Regions from separate parts of the Homo sapiens genome. Here region 2 is linked to region 1. The links are contacts of gene promoters, found by promoter capture Hi-C in human tissues and cell types (Jung and others, 2019). All regions are on one chromosome and are shown on one strand. The core of a region is centred on a gene start or on the middle of the fragment in contact, and the rest is flanking DNA. Distances in the headings are between cores, read along the strand shown.

What was found. Contacts are between HindIII fragments. The study calls those that stand out against the background at their distance.
Region 2: a fragment that was not itself captured here is called in contact with the fragment with the promoter of MTMR11 in region 1 in 1 of the 25 tissues and cell types used here (bladder).

What each region holds. Positions count from the first base shown.
Region 1 is chr1:149,935,029-149,938,731 of GRCh38, forward strand. It overlaps MTMR11 (myotubularin related protein 11), which reads right to left and starts at 1,851. Exons shown (of 17, transcript NM_001145862.2): 1 at 1,554-1,851; 2 at 1,126-1,201; 3 at 556-677; 4 at 271-331; 5 at 1-100. The coding sequence starts at 1,619. It overlaps OTUD7B (OTU deubiquitinase 7B), which reads right to left. Exons shown (of 12, transcript NM_020205.4): 12 at 2,784-3,703. RefSeq lists an enhancer at 1,117-1,641. The HindIII fragment of the contact is 18,071 bases long and covers 1-3,703 here.
Region 2 is chr1:150,160,726-150,164,428 of GRCh38, forward strand. It overlaps LINC02988 (long intergenic non-protein coding RNA 2988), which reads left to right and starts at 3. Exons shown (of 4, transcript NR_135098.1): 1 at 3-85; 2 at 3,471-3,577. RefSeq lists enhancers at 1-72, 2,421-2,610 and silencers at 683-752, 1,341-1,410. The HindIII fragment of the contact is 7,641 bases long and covers 1-3,703 here.

The DNA.
Region 1 (3,703 bases), core at 601-3,100:
CTGAGCAGCCGGAAGTCTCGGCCATGAATCAGAATCTCCTCAGGGATAAATTTATGCAGGGACCCTGGACGGAGGAGCTGGACTCGGGACAAGCCGCTCACTGAAGTCAAGAGGTACAGAACAGTGTAACCATGGACCAGAGTCTCTCCAGAAGGGACTCTTGCAGCCCATCCCACTCCATCCCTGCTGTTTTCTGAGAACAGAGGAAGGATGAGGAGGGAGTTCCAACAACCCCAGTGAACCCCTTCACCAAACCCCCCCCCAACTTACCAGCCTCTAATCGTCCAATGTTGACCAGGGCAAAATCGTATTCACTGTTCAAGGGAGTGTCCTAGACGAAACACGTGACTGGGTAGACATCTGAAATCGCCCTCATTTTCCTACCCTGGCAGCCCCAACCCCTTCTAGGGGGCAACAACCCTAGAGAGAGTTCCCACTGATTATCAATGATACATTCAAAAGACAGCCCTTAACCCATAATGTTTGTCTAAATCCTGCTAGACTCCCCTACCCATTTCCCACTAGCTGTCATTTCTGTGGCCCCAACCATCTCACCTGATTCCACTGCCATCCACAGGGCTGGAAGGTGACCCTAAAGTTGGTACAGATCAGGGTTCCAGACAATTCTGGTTCCAGGCCCTTCCTCACCCCTGGGGCCCATGCTAGGATCTGCTCCCCTAAAGGGGAAGAAGGGAAGCCCTGTTATGACTGTTCCCAGTGTTGCCCACACTTGGATACACCCACCCCTCCAAGAAAGGGAGATCTAAATAGGGAAGATTAAAATCCTCCCCAAAGCCCACTACAATGTAAGCTTATGAGGAAAGATAAATGTTTTTTAATTTCTGTAACTAGAACAGAGCCTAGAACAAGGCCTGGCACATAGCAGGCACTAACTATGTATCGAATAAGTAAATTTGAAAAGGGGTAACAGGGTCAAGGAAACAGAAGGAATGTCAAGGTCCAGCTCTCAGCCAGCTCTAGAGGCTGTCAGGGAGGACAGCGAGCCTCAGGCAGACGTACTTCGAGCCACGAGAGGAACACAGGGGTATCTTTGGTGAGGGCATGAAACAAGATTGGCGTAGGATGAAATTTGGAAGTCTTTGGAGAGTGATAGGGCATTATTACCTGGGAGGCATCTGGAGGCCAGGCAACTGCTAGGCTGACGACTCCTGGGCTCCGGCATCCTATTTTCCTGGACAGACTTTGGTCCAGAGGGTTGAGGGGGGTCTAGAGTTAACCCCTAGGCTCCCCAACTCCCCAGAGGCAGCTGCCTGTAGAGGCCTACACTCACACTCTCGGGGGAAACTGAGATCAGTGTCTGTGGGGAGCTCCAGACCTAACAGGGCTGGTAAACAGTAAAGGGAGGGGCTGGTTAATGGATAATGAGACAACGAACTTGAGACTGAGAAAGACGGACCAGGCTCCATCAGCAGAAGCTGATAGACAGACACACCCTCCTCCTCCTCCTCTAGAGCCTTTGCTTCCCCCTTTTATCTCCACCTCATCCCCGTTCTCACCCTCTTGCCGACACCCCCCAAATTCCTTCTCCTTACCCCCATCTCTGGCTCCTCCTTCTGGGGGGCAATGTTGAAACTCTGGCCCCGGCCCCCCCACCACATTTCTCTGGCTCCATCCGGGGACACAGCAGTTAAGGGTGGGAAACCTCAAGGATGCTCACCCACCTCGGGGAGAGGCTGAGTCTTGTTGAGAAGAGGGGTGTTAGGGAGAGGGGTAGGGGGTTGGACACAAGGGAAAGGAGCATTTGACGTGCACGGAGCAGAGTTTGGGGGTCCTTGGAAAGGTGTGTCCAGCCCAGCCTGAGAAGTCTCCTCGGAAACTTCAGTCGACTCTGGAGAGGGCGGGAGAGATGCCCAACCCCTTAAAGGAGAATACACACAATTCTGGAAAAGTGGAGAGGAAACGGTGGAGTCTGAGACGGACGGGTGGGGAAGAAATGGGGACTGAGAGAAAAACGACTCCCTTCTTTACCCCAATCCCAGACCCTGTTCTCTTCCTGTTCATGAGTACTGGAGACCGTTTGAGGGGAGCAGTTCTATTGATTATGAAGCTGGAATCATCTGGGCTACCTGTCTGGAGTGTCTCAGTGATGACTTCCCTTAAAAGCTCCGTTCTTTTGTCTTCTCAAAGGGGTTTGGGGCGGGGAGAGGGGTAGGAATGTGAAAGTGGTTCAAGCCTCCTTGCCGCCTCTTCCAGAAGAAAATGAAAATTAGACCTGGGGGGATTTTTGTCAGCAGAGGCCCAAGAATTAGGTGAGGAAGCAGGGAAACTGGTTAAAGTGGTTTTGCATATCTTTCTCTAGAGGGCATGACACAGACATCATGTGAAGACTGCAGTGGAGAAGTATAAAAAGAGATGGAAATGTGTCCAAGATGCAGACACAAGTACAGTTTGTGTGCAAGTCTTGGGGATGTGGGTGGGACAAAAAGATCTTACCAGTTAATCTTGCCCATCACGTAGATACACAACCAATAGGCAATAAGTGCCCATTCCCGTATGTGACTCCACCCCTCCAACCCAGACACCAGATCTCCAAATGAATGATTCATGTTCAGGACTTTCACAGGTGAGGGCTGGAAACCTCTCTTCAGCTCAGCAGTCCATCCCCCGTCCCTCCCATCTGCAACCCTAGAAGCAAAGATGGGTAAGGAAAGCTGGGAACAAGGAGAGAAGGAGCTGCAGCTCCTTTAAAGGAGGGGGACTTGGGGACAGCAAAGCAAAAATCTTTATTTAGACATGAAAAAGACAGAAAATAAAATACAAAATAAGAGTTAATGAGCTGCTGTTTTATTGCTTTTGAATCTACAGAGGCAGCAATCCTTAGATGGGGGCCCCAGTTTTCCAAAGTGACACTCAATTTTCCCCTCCCCCCAGTACACCACCCTTCTGGCCTCAGCTTTCAGTTTCCTGTCTTGGCTGCAACTGTGGAAATAGTGAAGATATTGTGAGACAGAAAGTCAGTCTGGAACAAAGAGGTATACACCTGCTAAGAAGGTGGCCCAGAAGCCTGATTCTAGAAGTCCTAAAGGCTACAGAGCACCACCACCCCACCTGCCCCTAATGCATTCCATGGGCCTCAACCTCTTGGGGGAAGAAAATATTTCCCAAGGTCTGTTGTAAAAAGAAAATAGGGACCAGGCGCAGTGGCTCACGCCTGTAATCCCAAGCATTTTGGAAGGCCAAGGCAGGCAGATTACTTGAGGTCAGGAGTTCAGGACCACCTGGCCAACATGATGAAGCCCCATCTCTACTGAAAATACAAAAATTAGCCAGGCGTGGTGGCTCACACCTATAATCCCAGCTACTTGGGAGGCTGAGGCAGGAGAATCGCTTGAACCCAGGAAGCAGAGGTTGCAGTGAGCCAAGATCTAATGACTACGCTCCAGCCTGGGCAACAGAGCAAGACTCCATCGCAAAAAAAAAAAAAAAAAAAAAGACATAGGAAGAGGTGTGTACCATAACTTTTAAATCCCATTATCCACTTTCCTTCTCACCACCATCCTTCATTCAAGAGCCTCATTCTATTCTTTAGCACTTTGAGGTGTGGAGACAGTGGAGGAACACGGAGAAAAAAAATCGGGGGGTAGGGGTGTGGTGGCTCATGCCTGTAATCCCAGCACTTTGGAAGGCTGAGGTGGGTGGATCACGGATCACCTGAGGTTAGGAATTCAAGACCAGCCTGGCC
Region 2 (3,703 bases), core at 775-3,274, 230 kb after region 1:
ACTTTAGAAAAGCATCTGGATGCCCACGCCACCACCCTCCCAGCCACCTCTGAAGTTGCCAGGCTTCCCAACATTCTTGTCTGTGGTAGGTCCCACACAACTCACTGTTCACTCTTTCCTTGGAAGTGTGTGAGATGAGGTTTAGTAACGGTGAGGTCCCCAGAAGAGCTATGAAGGGAATAATTTGATTTTGGGAAAGAAGGGGACAGAGTCTCATGAATCAAGTAAATGAGGGGTTAAAAGCCACATTGAAGTGTGCCTTGCTAGCTGCTTGATCCTCCAAGAGCAGCGGGGCTTCACTAGAGGTAAGGGGAGGAGGGGGAGGAAACGGGGCCAAGTTACATGTAGACCTGGCCATGACGCTGCCCCGATGTTATAGGAAGATGGGATAGGAGGAAGCGGGGGAAAAACCTGTGGGAGAAACAGATTCTTCAGTCCGCATTCTTCTGCTCTAACGTCACTCCTACAACCCATGTAAGCAAAATGGGGGCCTCTGTCCCCTTTCCAGAAATCATCTCTTTCCTTCACAGCTCTTCTCTGGACCTTATCACTGCTGTTAAACCATCCCTAGGGCAGAGGAATTCTTGCTCTCTCTAGTCCCTTGCCACTCTGTCATGGAGATTGTCCCCAGCTCTAGACTGTAGTTACCTAGCCTCTTCCTTGAAGAATGTGTATCCCAGTTGAGTGAGGGAAAGTGTGCAAGAGTGCCACCTTCATGTCATTCTATGGTCTCTTGGGGTATGAGGTGAGAACCCAGGCTTCCAGACTTCCTGTCCTTCAAATAGCTGCACTCTCCACAGCCCTAAGCATGGTCAGCAGAGCCATCCATTGTCACAAGTATTGAAGTCTAAGGTAGAATTATGCTTTCTTTTTACAAGTCTCTATCTTTGTATTTTACCAGCATTTTTCCTTTTCTTTTTTTCTTCCTTGTTGCTCCCACATAATGAAAAAAGACAAAAGCACAAATGACATGTGTATCCCAACATGTCAATTATCTGTGGCTCCCAGGGGAGCCAGAAGATGGAGGGAGACACTAGAGAGGAGAATGACAGGTGAAAGAAGCAGAAAAGAAAGATCGGGGACCTCACAACAGTAAGAGAGGAGCTGGGCACTGTGCTCCTGGGCTTCAGGCTCTAAAACCAACAGCTTCCAGTTCTCCAGCAGTTACTGGAACATCCAGGCCCTAGGGTGGTGAAATGAGCCCAGCTTTGAAACCAGATGGATCTGGATTCAAATTCTAACTCTGTTACTTCTTGATTATGAGGCTCTGGGCAAGGCACATGCTTTCCGAGTATCAGTTTTTTTCATCTGCAAGCTGCAGAGCTATTGGATGGGTGAGGACAATATGGAAAATGCCTGTCAGTCAGAAAGTGACCACTGCAGCTACTGTTACTGGTTTGACTCTGGGCAGTGAGCCGCTAGCTCAGTTGGAAGGAGCACTGTGTGAATGAGGCCACCGGGGTGGGGTCACTGTCACTTAGCTAGATCCAGGCCACAGGCTGTGCTGGACCTCTCTCTTCAGAGGAGAGAGCCAGAAGGGATGAAAGCATGGTCCCTGGTCTTCAAGAACTTTAGAGCTTAGCATGGAACCAGGCTTCCCACTAGAAAAATCGCTTAAGGTGCACCCTTGTGGTAGGCTGCTGGCATGAGTTCTGTTGAAGCATTTGTATTGAACCTGGGCACTGTGACAGGAGGATGGGAAGGTGCTTACGTTCATTTCCCTTCCTCCCAGTGCTTCTCCTCCCTCACTTCATCATTTTAGCCCCTCTGCCTGCAATATTTCCCTTCCGTGCCCCCGGTAACTGTGATGCGTGGCAAATGGGCTGGCTCAGTAGCTGTGTGGGGCAACTTTCTCAGCACACAGCTGCCCCCAGACACTTTCAGGGTGCACTTATTCTCCCTCCCTTTCCACTCCCAACCGCTCTGCTCCCTTCTTTTCTTACACAGATGAAGCAAAGGGAAGTGCCCTCCGGAGGCCCTAGGATGGGGAGACGGGGTAAGGGGTGGAACCCAGGACACAGAGTTGAGAGGGGGTGAGGGGTAGAGGCAGGTAAAGAACGAAATCTTAATTCTCATTTCAGTGACACTTTCCTCAACTTTTCCTGTCCTTCCCCATCAGGTTGTTAGCCAGGGGCCTGAGGAGGGATAAAGGAACTGCAGTCCCGGCTCCCTCCATTAGGAAGAATGTCTGGGGTGTTGGCCTGGAACGCTGATGAGTTGATTTCCTTCTATCTCCACAGCATAGGTTTACCAGGGAGAAAAGAAAGGTGCAAATTTCTCTAACTCCTGCCCTGGTCCTCACATACTATGCGGTTCTGAGCCTAGAGCTCTGTCCCTGGGGAAACAGCTCTCGCCTCCTTCCCCAGCCGCTCTCCCAACCCCTCTGCCAGTAATAAATTTGCCTCATTCTCCCAGGAAATGAGTCTCTAAGAATCTCTCTTCTATCTAAACCTCACAGGCAAGCAGTCCCAGCCCACTTCTGCAACCCTCAAGCTCAGCTACTGCCCCCACCCCCCACTTCGTCACTCCCTTCTCTACGCTGGGTTCCTTTCTCTTTCTGCTTTCTTACTACCTCCCTGTCTCCCAACAGGAGCAGCCAATCCCCAGCCTGCTCTAGAGCCACGCCATATATGGAGAGGTTGGAAAGAAACCCGAGTAAATGCAGGAGCGAACACACACACACACTCATACTCATGCACATACTCATGCACACACAGCAGAGTTTGACCGCCTTTCTGCATGTGACCCTGTGTCTATTTGTCTCTGTGTGACACAAGTCCCACCCACAGAATGAGGAGGCTGTTTGCTATTCCCCACCTTTAGTCGTGCCCCAGGAGACCATCACTCCAACCCGTTGCCTCTGACCTAGATTCCTTGCACTAATTACAAGCCTAACAAGAGCTAACAAACACCCCACTTAGAACAGCTGAGACCCTCGAGGTCAATTAGTGCAGCCCAGCTCTGCTCAGGAAATGAGAGATAGAGCCAGAAAGTCTTGTACATGGCCCACCCCAACCTCACCCCAACCCTGGGGTTGGAAGCAAGGATGGGGAGAATGCAAAAATTAGCAGGACCAGTTTAAAAACGGGGTTTTGGAGGGTTAAAAAGTGTGGAGAACACACTTGTTAAGTGCATTAAGGTTGGGGAGCAATTGGAGAATACAGATTCCCAACTCCTCCTGAACTATCAGAAGTGTAGAGGCTGGTGCAGCTACAGAAACCATGGACATAAGGCGGCTTTCATAAGGACTTAATATGAGGAAAAGTAACTCATAGAAAGGCAAGTAGCACTAGAACTCTTGACCTTTGTCATGGTCTCCGACACCAAATCCCTTCTCCTCTTTGCTTCCTGCTGTGAACAAGTTGGGGTTATCACCCCTGTCCTTCCTGCTGGTTTGGGATGGCTCAGAAATCACCCCTTTCTTTCAGAAATAGTAGGCTCATGTCCGTTCTTTCTTTCCCTTCCTCCAGATATTAAAGCCATGACAGCAAACAGCCCCTTTCTCCTAAGGTTCCTGATTTGAAGTGGCAAAACAAGGCAGTGGCATAGTCTCCTGTCCTATGTCCTTGGCATGCAGGTCAGTTGTCCTAATACCATCCCTAATGTTTTTGGCTCTATCAAGTGGGGGAGGCAGGGAAGAGAACACTAGTGGAATACTCTGTGCACAAATAGGGAAGTGGACTCAAAAACACAATGTTCCTCT